Linked DNA regions of Homo sapiens: all the other regions are linked to region 1. The links are contacts of gene promoters, found by promoter capture Hi-C in blood cells and fetal thymus (Javierre and others, 2016). All regions are on one chromosome and are shown on one strand. The core of a region is centred on a gene start or on the middle of the fragment in contact, and the rest is flanking DNA. Distances in the headings are between cores, read along the strand shown. Region 1 holds the start of GPR148 (G protein-coupled receptor 148). Region 2 overlaps ARHGEF4 (Rho guanine nucleotide exchange factor 4). Region 3 overlaps ARHGEF4 (Rho guanine nucleotide exchange factor 4).

Region 1 (4,144 bases), core at 788-3,287:
CAGCACCCGCTCGGTGCTCTGAGATTGTTGTATGGGCTATTTAATTCCTAAGATGATTCTCAGCAGGAGGCAGGCTCTGTATCATCCCAGCGGCTTTTTCACCTTGGGAGTTTCGCGCTTTCCGATTCCATGAAGTTGCTGCTTGTCACCCCGTCACCGGCTATAAGGATTTAGCTCACAACCACATTTTTACTGAGGGATTGTCATTTAACGAGTTTCCCTCTCCCAGGGAATCTGCATTCTAAGACCCCAAAGGCCGGCGAGGGTCGTTGTGCTGGGCTGGACAGCAGAGAGAGGCTCGGCCTTGGCCCTCAGCCCTGCAGCACACAGGGCACCCGCGCAGAGAGCGTGGCCTGCGAATGGCTCTGCTGCCTCTCCCGGCCTGGGGCCGATTAGACCGGTCAGAGCATCTGTAAAGTACAAGGGGCCCCTAGGGAGTGCAGGCCAGGGCAGCTGGGGCAGGGAGGCGGGGTCCGCCCCATGGCATCGCGGTTTCTCTGGAAGGGGTGATGGGCTTTCTCAGAACCACCTTTAGTTTCTGTACCGTAATCGGCCAAAAAGGCGCAGGCGCTGCTGCTCCTGGCAGCTGCGTAACAGGCTCTCAGAGGAGGACGCGGTTCCGGGCTGCGGCGGGCGTGGTCCGGGGCTGTTCTGGGCGTGGTCTTTGGCTGTGATGGGCGTGGCCTTGGGCTATGGAGGGCGTGGTCCCAGGGCTGCGATGATGGTGGTCCGGGGCTGTGGTGGGCGTGGCCCCGGGCTGCGGCGGGCGTGGTCCCCGGGCTGCGGCGGACGTGGTCAGGGGCGGTTCTGGGCGTGGTCCCTGGGCTGCGGTGGACGTGGTCTCGGGCTGTGACGAGCATGGTCCCTGGGCAGCAGTGGACGTGGTCTCACACCCAGAGTCTGAAATTTCTGCCTCTTCCTGGCCCTAAAAATATCCTGCCTGTTCCCACGCGGCTCCTGCCTTCTGGAGCAGTCTGCCAGGCCGGCGGTGGGTGTTGGGCAGGGGTCTCAGGCTGCCAGCAGCCAAGTGCAGCCCGTTCTGCAGTGATGACAGGGATCTGTGGGCAGAGGGGACCGAGCCTCGGAGGATGCTGTAGGTGGGAGAGCTAACATTGACTCAGCATTTACTTCAGGCTATGCACTGTGCTGAGTCCCTTACCTCTGGGCTTCCGCAACGTTTCCCTGAGGTCAGTGTGGTTGGCATTCGTGTTTCACAGATAAGGAAACTGGAACAAAGCTTTTCAAGGCCACGCAGCCAACACCTCGAGAGAGCGGGAGAGCTTGTTCACTTGAACTGGATCCCCAAACACCAACAGCCACCCTGGCCACTGGCTCTGACTGAGCTCACCCCACCCCCGACAAGCCAGGTGCCTGGGGAACCTGCCTTCCATTCCTCCCCACTAGCTCCTATGAGGTCTCTGCCTGCCAGGCCTCCTCCTCCCCAGAGGAAGGGACGTTTCTACCACACAGCGACCCCACAAGTCAGCTGAGATTTTGGGGGCACCGAATACTCACATGGAGCCCTGAGTGGAAGGGGTGTAGGAGTCACACTCACACGCATGCACAGGGTCACCCTGAGCTGGAGACCATACCCAAGGCTCTGTGAGGAAATGTGAGTGCGCCCAGGCCCCTCCAGCCTGGTCCAATTTGCTGAGCCTCTAGCTCGACAGAGGTCAGACCAGGTCTACAGCCCAGCGATCCTAGTTCCAGACAGCTGCTCCTTCCTTTCTAGGAGGGCAGCCCGGAATATAATCCAGTGTGGTGAGAATCCATTGCACACTCCCTGTGAGCCAAGCAGACAGGTTTGGGGGCCACTGAGATAGGGGACACTTCTGGAGGGGTCAGTGACTGCAAAATGGTGGCAGTGGGATGATCTGTTATGTCTACCCACGCACATGCAGCTGCACAGTTGCAGAGATGTGAATGCAGGAAGCCAGGTGTGAGTCTGAATTCACATTGGTTTTTTTATCTTTATTAAGCAGTCATTCCTAAGGCCTGCCCGAGCCTGGCATCTCTACAGAGGAGTGGTGCCATCAGGACCCCTGTGGGGCAGATCAACACTCAAGGCAGGTGCAGAATCAACAACCTGTGACAAAGCCAGCCATCCCTGCCAGGAAGCATGGGGGATGAGCTGGCACCTTGCCCTGTGGGCACTACAGCTTGGCCGGCCCTGATCCAGCTCATCAGCAAGACACCCTGCATGCCCCAAGCAGCCAGCAACACTTCCTTGGGCCTGGGGGACCTCAGGGTGCCCAGCTCCATGCTGTACTGGCTTTTCCTTCCCTCAAGCCTGCTGGCTGCAGCCACACTGGCTGTCAGCCCCCTGCTGCTGGTGACCATCCTGCGGAACCAACGGCTGCGACAGGAGCCCCACTACCTGCTCCCGGCTAACATCCTGCTCTCAGACCTGGCCTACATTCTCCTCCACATGCTCATCTCCTCCAGCAGCCTGGGTGGCTGGGAGCTGGGCCGCATGGCCTGTGGCATTCTCACTGATGCTGTCTTCGCCGCCTGCACCAGCACCATCCTGTCCTTCACCGCCATTGTGCTGCACACCTACCTGGCAGTCATCCATCCACTGCGCTACCTCTCCTTCATGTCCCATGGGGCTGCCTGGAAGGCAGTGGCCCTCATCTGGCTGGTGGCCTGCTGCTTCCCCACATTCCTTATTTGGCTCAGCAAGTGGCAGGATGCCCAGCTGGAGGAGCAAGGAGCTTCATACATCCTACCACCAAGCATGGGCACCCAGCCGGGATGTGGCCTCCTGGTCATTGTTACCTACACCTCCATTCTGTGCGTTCTGTTCCTCTGCACAGCTCTCATTGCCAACTGTTTCTGGAGGATCTATGCAGAGGCCAAGACTTCAGGCATCTGGGGGCAGGGCTATTCCCGGGCCAGGGGCACCCTGCTGATCCACTCAGTGCTGATCACATTGTACGTGAGCACAGGGGTGGTGTTCTCCCTGGACATGGTGCTGACCAGGTACCACCACATTGACTCTGGGACTCACACATGGCTCCTGGCAGCTAACAGTGAGGTACTCATGATGCTTCCCCGTGCCATGCTCACATACCTGTACCTGCTCCGCTACCGGCAGCTGTTGGGCATGGTCCGGGGCCACCTCCCATCCAGGAGGCACCAGGCCATCTTTACCATTTCCTAGAGTTCTTGAGTCCACAGTCTGGCAAGCTGAGGTTAAAAATCATATGTTGAATGCAGCAGTGTCCACTTATGACTAACTTCTTAGAACAGCACAATATAATAGTGGAATTGGGCCTTTCAGAAGACCTCAACTGATGATTTTCACCATTTTGACAGTTTTTAAGTAGAGAAAGCTCTCTTATGACACTGAAATCCTACTTGGAAACGGAAGCAAGTAAAGGCAATCAAGCAGGGCTCTGGTCTAAGTCAAGCCTTGATCTGCGTCCCTCCAATGGCTTGCTGCACACCCTCCCTGGCCACTGTGGATGCATCCTTGCTGACCAACACACAGAAGCCAAAATGTTGCTGACAGTGAGAACCACAGAGGTAAGCAAGCAGAGCTGCTGAGTCCTGGGACCATGAGCTCTATCTGAGCAGCCGCTCAGGATGTGGGAGGGAGGAAAGGAAGCCAACGATCCACAGCAGTGGAGAGTGTCATGGAGATACCACTATAAAGCTGGAGTGTGCAAGGGTTACACTCTCACAATAAAGGTAAATGATAACCTAACCTTACAGAAGGGGTCAGCAAGGGAGTTTGCCTGCCTTGACTTTCGTGCTGTGTAGAAGAAGAAAATTCCTCGAGAATTCTTAAGTAGAAGCCACTCTTCAGACAGTTTTAGAGCTAGGCTTCAAATTATGTTAGTGGTAAAAAGACCTCAGTCTGTGGTTGGTGTGGTTCTCCTGGACGATCTGAGCTTCACCTTAGGCTGCAGAGAATTTCCAGAGTCAAAGAACCTCAAATAATGGAGTTGCACATGGTCAAATCTCACAAAACCACATAGGGAGATAAGGCACCATGAATGAGAGCAAGAAGAAACAAGAAGACAGCAGCGTCATACCACAGCTCCTTGAATTATCAACACTGGGTTAATATAAAAATGTTCAAGATGTTTTAAGACATTAATAATGACATGAAAATATGAGCAGGGATAATACTTTTTTT
Region 2 (4,219 bases), core at 173-2,672, 180 kb after region 1:
CTGTAGAGATCTTTTGGCTCCCAGGTTAGCTGTATTCCTAGATATTATATTCTTTTTGTGGTGTTTTGAAAGGGATCACATTATTGACTTGACTCTCAGTTTAGACATTGTCAGTGTATAGAAATGCTACTGGTTTTTCTACATTGATTTTGCATCCTGAAACTTTGCTGAAGTTGTTTATCAGTTCTAAGAGCCTTTGGGCAGAGACTGTGGGATTTTTCTAGGCATAAGAACCATGTCTTCTGGCCAGGCGTGGTGGCTCACGCCTGTAATCCCAGCACTTTGGGAGGCCGAGGCGGGTGGATCACGAGGTCAGGAGTTCAAGACCAGCCTGGCCAACATAGTGAAACCTTGTCTCTACTAGAAATATGAAAAATTAGCTGGGCATGGTGGCGGGAGCCTGTCATCCCAGCTACTTGGGAGGCTGAGGCAGGAGAATCACTTGAACCCGGGAGGTGGACGTTGGAGTGAGCTGAGATTGCGCCATTGCACTCCAGCCCAGGCGACAGTGCGAGCTCCATCTAAAAAAATAGTAATAATAAAATTTAAAAAAAAAAGTTTTACTCTTTAAAAGGCCTTGGTAATAAAATGAAAAGGCAAGCCACAGACTGGAAGAAACTGTTTGGAAAACATATATCTGACAAAAGACTTATATATAAGGTATACAAAGAATCCTTACAACTCAATAGTAAGAACACAATCCAGTTTTTAAACATGGGCAAAAGACTTGAAGACACGTCACCAGAAAAGATGTACAGATGGAAAAAACATGAGAAGATGCTCAACATCATATGCCCTGAGGGAAACACAAATCCAGATTGCAAGGAGATACCGCTTCACAGACACTGGGAGGATTAACATGAACAAGGCTGGTGGTACCAGGTGCTGGGGAGGTTGTGGAGCAGCAGGACCTCATACATTGTGGGGAGTGAGGAAGGGAATGGAGAGCAGGTTCTTGAGCAGTTGAACGCATGCCCCTACCCTGTGTATCTGATACAGCGTCATCCCACTCCTCGGTATTTATCCAGGACAAATGAAAGCACATGTCCATATAAAGACCTGTACATGGATGTTCACTGCAGCTTTATGTGAGAAGCCGGAAACTGGGAACAACCCAAATGTCCATCAGCAGGTGAATAGATAACAAATTGCCTTATAGCTGCACTGTGGAACACGGGTCAGCAATAGAAGGAATGAATTCCTGTCACATGCAACAAAACATGGGTGCATTTCAAAATAATCATGCTAAGTGGGAAAGACCAGATAAAAAGAAGACATACCGCATGGTTCCATTTATATGAAATTCTAGAAAAGGCAAAAAGCAGATAAAGGTTGCCTGGGGAAGGAGAGGGTGTTGAGGGAGGAGTGAGGAGAGGCAGAAGGGAAAGAGATCAACGGTCATCATATTGATGGTGGTCATGGTTTCACAGATGTGTGTCAAAACTTTGACTGTACACTTGAAATATGTGTGGCTTTTTTATGACAATTATACATCAATAAAGTTGTAAAAAAAAAAAGTAAATAGCAGTAATACAAAGAAAATAAAACAAAGACCCTTGCATTTGGCAGTGTCACAGGCGCCTCTGCTGGCTGATTCAGGGCTGGGCGGGGTGGCAGCCAGACCCTGGGAGCAGTGTCCAGAACTTCTGATTCCAGAATCACGGCCCACTACACATTTCCCGAAAAGCTCCTCATAACAAAAGCTAAACCTAGAAGTAAAACATATCATCCTAAACAATCTTTAGTTGAGTTCACACACACAAAAGAAATTCCCAGGACAAAAAAAGAAGGAAGAGTTCAAAAAGTATGGAATTCAGTGGGAGGTAGAACCCCAGAGAGAGCAGTGATCACAGAAACACTCATGAGCCACACGCTGGTTAAAAGTGACTGAAAGCAGGGCCTGTCTGGGGGTGGGGTTAGGGGAGGGATAGCATTAGGAGAAATACCTAATGTAGGTGACGGGTTGATGGGTGCAGCAAACCACCATGGTACGTAATTACCTATGTAACAAACCTGCACATTCTGCACATGTACCCCAGAACTTAAGGTATAATAATAAAAAAAAGTGCCTGAAAGATTCAATTTGGAAAGTCCAGCTATATGTTGGTTATGAAAAGCACACCTAAAGAACATTGAAAGATTGAAAATAAAAGGATGGAAAAAATACATGGTTGGCAAATACTAACCAAAAGAATGCTGGTGTGGGTATATTAATATCAGAGGATGGCCTTTAAAGGAAAAGTCTTTCTTAGGGATAAGAAAGTAAAAAAGCCTTTATTACCACTGGTAATAAAGGAGCCACTCATAGGAAGATGTAACAGTTCTGAACTTGTTTATGCACCTGCTCACATAAGGCTGAACTGTAACAGAATTAAAAGAGGAAACTGACAAATCCACTAGGACAGTGGGAGGTTTCCACATGCTTCTCCTAATCACAGAGGAAAAACTAGTAAGACTTCCGAGGATTTAAACAGTCAACAAGGCTGATCTAATGAGCCCTTGTTAACACTGCACCGACCCATTAGAGAATGCACTATCCTTTCAAACGCCCATGGGACATCTCCAAAGTAGGACCTTGTACTATGTCATAAAGCCAGTTTCAACTAACTTCAAAAAATCAGTATCACACAGATGACTCTTTGATGACAGTGTCATTAAATAGAAATCAGAAACAGATAACTAACACATACTTCTAATAAGTCACAGGTCAAAAAGGAAATTATAATGAGCTTATTTTAAAAATTAGGATTGCCAAGATAATGGACATACCACAGATTAAAACTAGTGGTTTTTAGAAGGGACACTGTGTCCTCACATACTAATATTCTCTAAAAAGTGAATGACACATAGGAAAGTGTGCATATTAAATGTAAACTGTGTTATTGAGGAGTTTGCAGAGGGCAGAGGAGAGGTGGGGAGAGGCTAGCTCCACTGAAGGTTTCGGCCAACGTCGGGGCAGCGGGCAGGGAAGCGGTGAGGTCAGGAGGAGGAGGTGGGATGTGGGGCCTGCCGGTCAACACCATCCTCCCCTCCTGATGGGCTGGTAGTCAGCAGTTCACCCTGCTGTGGAACACTCACTGCAGCTGTTTCTTACAGGAGACAGGCTCAGCATCTTGCCCTAAAGCCTCATCTAGTTATAGAATAAGACAGTTGGGAAGTGCCAGGCCTGTGGCAAAATGGAGCCTGCCTGCTTCAGACTTTCAAATTTAACCCACTCCCACCCCTGTAAAAACCCTGAGCCTCCGCAGAAAGAATACTTGTTTGGTCTAGATTCCAGCCCCAGGCCATTCCCAGGACATAACCCTGGACTTACATCACTTTATGCTGAGAAATTATTTGGGGATCGCTCCTGAATCAACTCAGGAAGAAAGTCTTTATAAGATTAGAATCCAATATTCAATCAAATCAAATGTTGTTTTTGATGTACTCATTGAATTTCAGTATCTGTACACTGCAATCAGTCAAACCTGCTCTTCCAGTGCAGCTGCGCAGACTACACCAGCTTTGTTACCTGGAAGAGTCATCTTAGATTTTTTTTCCCCCAAAGGCTTTTGTTTTCATTGAGACTGAGGGAGGCCTCTTGCCAAAATAACCTGGAACTCAGACAAAGGCTGGACCCCTCCCCCCAGCAAGACGCCAGCCCCTGCCTCACAGGTAGTGCCCTGGGCAGCGATGCTGGGCAGGGAGGGCAGAAACGAGCCCACTGGCATTCTAGTCACCAGGGTCCTGATCGTTAGTCATTTGGAACTTGGGACTTGGGATTCTCTGTGTCTGCTCATGTAAGCAATGATGCCTGCGTGAGTCTGGAAGGTGACATCAAGCTATGTCAATGCTGAGAGGATGGCTCCAGTGTCCCTTAGATCAGTTCTTGGTGTCTAAGACGGGTTGGTGAGATGAGGGGCTGCAAGCGCCCTGCAGGGCAGGCGTCACTGAGCTGAGCACCCTGCCCGGCCTTAGCAGCCCTCTCAGTTCACTGGTTAATGACAGCAACCACTTGCAGTTGCACAGTTCTCTGTGCTTGTCCGGGCGTGCTCATGTCCATGTCTCACTGGTCCTCTCCTTGCCGTGGGAGGTAGGCACGCTGAAGGCGTCTGGCCCTGCCGTACAGTCAGGGCGCCTGGCCCCACGGAGGCAGCGGCCGGAGACAGTTCCTGCAGCAGACCCCTGGTTCCTTCACTTCTCTCCTCTGGGACGTCCTGTAACAACCACACAGCCCTCC
Region 3 (4,088 bases), core at 1,420-3,919, 200 kb after region 1:
GCAGAAGCAGGCCCACGTCGAAAGGAGGCTGCACATAGGGGCAGTGCACAAAGATGGAGTCAAGGTAAGCCACTCCCGGCCAGGAGTCCTCAGACTTGGTCTGGTATCCCCTTCTCTCTGCAGCTGCCTGTTGCTTCCTGAGCTTTTGCCTGACTCTCCTGAGATGTAACTTGTCACCCTGGGCCCCCTTGGATTACAGCATGCTGCCTGGGCCACACTCAGTACTGCAGTCGAGGGCCTGCAAGAGAGACACTTTGAGCAGTGCATTCCCCAGAGCCACAGAAGCCAGGGCCCCCTCTTCCTTCTCTGTAGTATGTCTCTGCCTGTGGCCAGCTCCATGCAAGGTAGTAGTGCAGAGAAGACTGCCATTTAATGAGTGCCTGCTGTGTGCCCGACATGATTAGACACTGCCCTAGCATTGGCTCTGCCACTCACAGAGGCACAGAACATTTCAATAAGACAATCTTAACCAAATTAACTAAAGTCATTATGTTGTCCATTCAATTTTGTCTCTAGGACACTTTGACAACATGATTTTTTGCATGAAACCGACAGCCTACTAAAAAGTAAATTAATGGTGTAGACATCATGCCATTTACCCAATCTCTGACAAGAGTTTCTTGTTTTTTCCCTTTATAAATAGCAATATTTAATATCAAGTGTTTGTGAAGTACACATCTCTGAGTCTCACCTCATCCTTGAAGACTCACTTTTTAAAACTGAGGTGAAATTCACATAATGTAGAATTAACCATGTTAAAGTGAAGAATTCATTGGCATTTAGTATATTCATTCACTATATTTTGCGACCACCACCTCTGTCCAGCTCCAAGGCATTTTCATCACCCCTAAAGGAAACCCTATTCCCCATTTCCCCTCCCCAGACCCTGGAAATACTCATCTGCTTCCTGTCTCTATGGGTCTTCCTATTCTGGATTTTTCATATAAATGTAATTACATGATACGTGACCTTTTGTGACTGGCGTTTTTCACTTAGCGTCGTGTTTTATCCATGTCATAGCACATATCAATACTTCATTTCTTTGTATGGCTAAGTAACATTTCGTTATGTGATTATACAGTACTTGTCTCACTTTGTTCATCCATACATCCATTCCTGAGTAGCTCTTCATCCATTTCTGAGTAGCTGGGATTACAGGTGCCTGCCACCATGCCCACCTAATTTTTGTATTTTTAGTAAAGATGGAGTTTCACCATGTTGGCCAGGCTGGTCTCGAACTCCTGGCCTCAAGTGATCCACTGGCCTTGGCCTCCCAAAGTGCTGGGATTACAGGCATGAGCCACCGCGCCTGGCCTGGAATCCTTTACATATTCTGAATGTAAGACCATTATAAGATATGTCATTTGCAAATATTTTCTCCCATCTGTAGAGTGCCTTTCACTTTTTTGATAGTACCCATTGATGCATAAGTACTTAATTTTGATGAAATCTACTTTATCTATTTTTTTTTGTTGCTTGTGCATTTGATGTCATACCTAAGAATCTATTGCCAAATCCAAGTAATGAAATTTACCTCTGTTTTTTTCTAAGAGTTTTATACCTTTCGCTTTTAAATTTAGGTCTTTGATCCATTTTGATTTAATTTTTGTATGGTATGAGATAGAGGTCCAATTTTAATATTTTCCATGCGGATATGTAGTTACCCAAACACCATGTGTTGAAGAGACTATTCTGTCCCTTACTGAATGGTCTTGGCATCCTTGTCAAAAACCAACTTACCCGCCAGGCGCAATGGCTCACATCTGTAATCCCAGCACTTGGGGAAGCCGAGGCGGTGGATCACTTAAGGCCAGAAGTTCGACGTCAGCCTGGACAACATGGTGAAACCCTGTTTCTACTAAAAATACAAAAATTAGCCAGTGTGGTAGCACGCACCTGTACTCCCAGCTACTCGGGAGGTTGAGGTGGGAGAATCACTTGAACCTGGGAGGCAGAGGTCACAGTGAGCCAAGACTGCACCACTGCACTCCAGCCTGGGTGACAGAGTGAGACCCTGTCTCAAAAAAAAAAAAAAAAGTCAAATTACCTTAGATGTGTGGGTGTATTTTTGACTCTCAATTCTATCCTATTAACTTATATGTCTGTCTTTATGTCAGTACCACATTGTTTTGATTATCATAGTTTTATAATAAGTTTTGAAATTGGAATGTGAGAGTCTTCTTTGTTCTTTTTCAAAATTGTTTTGGCTTTTTGTTGGACCTTGCAATTTCATATGAATCTTATAATTTCCAATTCTGCAAAAAAATAAAGGCCCTTGGGATTTCCATAGGATTGCATTCGATCTGTAGATCACTTGGGAGAGTAGTGCCATATTAATAATATTAAGTCTTCAAATCCATGAACACTGGGTGTCTTTCCGTTTTTGGGAGGTGTTCTTGAATTGCTTTCAGCAGTGTTTTGTAGTTTTCACTGTAAAAAGTCTTGCACATCCTTGGTTAAAATGTTTCCTAAGTATTTTGTTCTTTTTGATGACATCATAAATGGAAATTTTTAAAAGCTTCATTTTGGGATTATCCATTGCTAGAGCATAAAAATACAATTGATTTTTGTTTATTGATCCTATATCCTGAAACGTTGCTGAATTCATTTATTAGCTATAATAATATTTTTGTGGATTCTTTGGAAATTTCTATGTATAAGATTACATCATTTATAAAAATAGATTACTTTACTTCTTCCATTCCAGTTTAGATGCCTTTGATTTCTCTTTTATCCCTTACTTGCTCTGGGTAGAACTTACATAACAATGTTGAGCAGAAGTGGTGAAATGGGGTGTCGTTGTCTTCTTGGTTTTAGGATTAAAGCTTTCAGTCTTTCACTATTGTGTATGATGTTAGCTGTGTGTTTTTCACAAATGCCGTTTTATCATGTTAAGGAAGTTCGTTTCTATTTCTAGTGTTTTTATCATGAAAGGGTGCTGGATTTTTTAAGTGCATGATCAATTTTGATGACGGTTTTTCTGCATCAACTGAGATAATCATGCATGTTTTCTTTGACCTATTAATGTGGTATATTACATTGAATATGTATTCATCTGCAGTTTTCTTTTCTTGTGATGTTTTTCTCTGGCTTTGGTATCAGAGTGATTCTGGTCTTATAGAATGAGTTAGGAAGTGCTCTCTCCTCTTCTATTTTTTGAAAGCATTTGAGAAAGATTCTTCTTTAAATATCTTGTATAGTTCACCAGTGAAGCTTTCTGGTCCTGGGCTTTTCTTTGTTGTGGGGTTTCTGATTACTGATTCAATTCTTTTTTCTTTTCTTTTAGTGTCAGGTTGGTGAAAAAACAATTCTTTACTTGTCATAGACCTGTTAAGAGTTTATATTTCTTCTTGTTTTGTTTTGTTTTGAGATGGAGTCTCACTCTGTTACCCAGGCTAGAGTGCAGCAGCATGATCTTGACTCACTGCAACCTCCACCTCCTGGGTTCAGGTGATTCTCCTGCTTCAGCCTCCTGAGTACCTGGGACTCCAGGCATGCACTGCCATGCATGGTTAATTTTTGTATTTTTTGATAGAGACAGGGTTTCACCATGTTGGCCAGGCTGGTCTCGAACTCTTGACTTCAAGTGATCTGCCCGCCTCAGCCTCCCAAAGTGCTGGGATAACAGGCATGAGCCACTGTACCCGGCCAAAGTTTGTATTTCTTATTGAGTCATTTGGCTTGTGTTTTTCTTAAGAATTTCTCCATTTTATCTACATTATCTAATCTGTTGATATACAATTGTCCATAGTGTTTTCTTATAATCCTTTTAAATTTCTGTAACATCAGTAGTAATGCCTCCACTCTCATTTCTAATTTTAGTAATTTGTATTTTCTCTCTTTTTTTCCTCAGTGTAGCTAAATGCTTATCAATTTTATTAGTCTTTTCATAGAATCTGTTTTTGGTTGTCTTGATTTTCTCTATTATTTTTCTTATTTTTATCCCATTTTTAATTTTTTATCTATTTATTCATTTATTTATTTATTTAGAGACTGAGTTATGGGACTGGTATTTGGTATTTTTGGTAGAAACAGGGTTTCACCATGTTGCCCAGGCTGGTCTCCAACTCCTGGGCTCAAGTGGTTTG

What was found. Contacts are between HindIII fragments. The CHiCAGO score rates a contact against its expected background, and 5 or more counts as called.
Region 2: a contact is called between a fragment that was not itself captured here and the fragment with the promoter of GPR148 in region 1, in 1 of 17 cell types (naive CD4 T cells). The highest score is 6.1, in naive CD4 T cells.
Region 3: a fragment that was not itself captured here is called in contact with the fragment with the promoter of GPR148 in region 1 in 4 of 17 cell types (non-activated CD4 T cells, total CD8 T cells, naive CD8 T cells and 1 more); the score reaches 5.7 in non-activated CD4 T cells.

Annotation. Positions count from the first base shown.
Region 1 is chr2:130,727,033-130,731,176 of GRCh38, forward strand. It overlaps GPR148 (G protein-coupled receptor 148), which reads left to right and starts at 2,038. Exons shown (of 1, transcript NM_207364.2): 1 at 2,038-3,304. The coding sequence starts at 2,120. The coding sequence ends at 3,163. RefSeq lists enhancers at 1-287, 609-1,188, 1,189-1,767 and a silencer at 671-840. The HindIII fragment of the contact is 6,760 bases long and covers 1,236-4,144 here.
Region 2 is chr2:130,908,151-130,912,369 of GRCh38, forward strand. The region is part of intron 1 of ARHGEF4 (Rho guanine nucleotide exchange factor 4); the gene reads left to right. Among named protein-coding and RNA genes, the nearest start is that of ARHGEF4-AS1, 73 kb to the left of the region's middle. The HindIII fragment of the contact is 6,101 bases long and covers 1-4,219 here.
Region 3 is chr2:130,931,194-130,935,281 of GRCh38, forward strand. ARHGEF4 (Rho guanine nucleotide exchange factor 4) reads left to right here. Exons shown (of 14, transcript NM_001367493.1): 3 at 1-64. Among named protein-coding and RNA genes, the nearest start is that of ARHGEF4-AS1, 96 kb to the left of the region's middle. The HindIII fragment of the contact is 307 bases long and covers 2,517-2,823 here.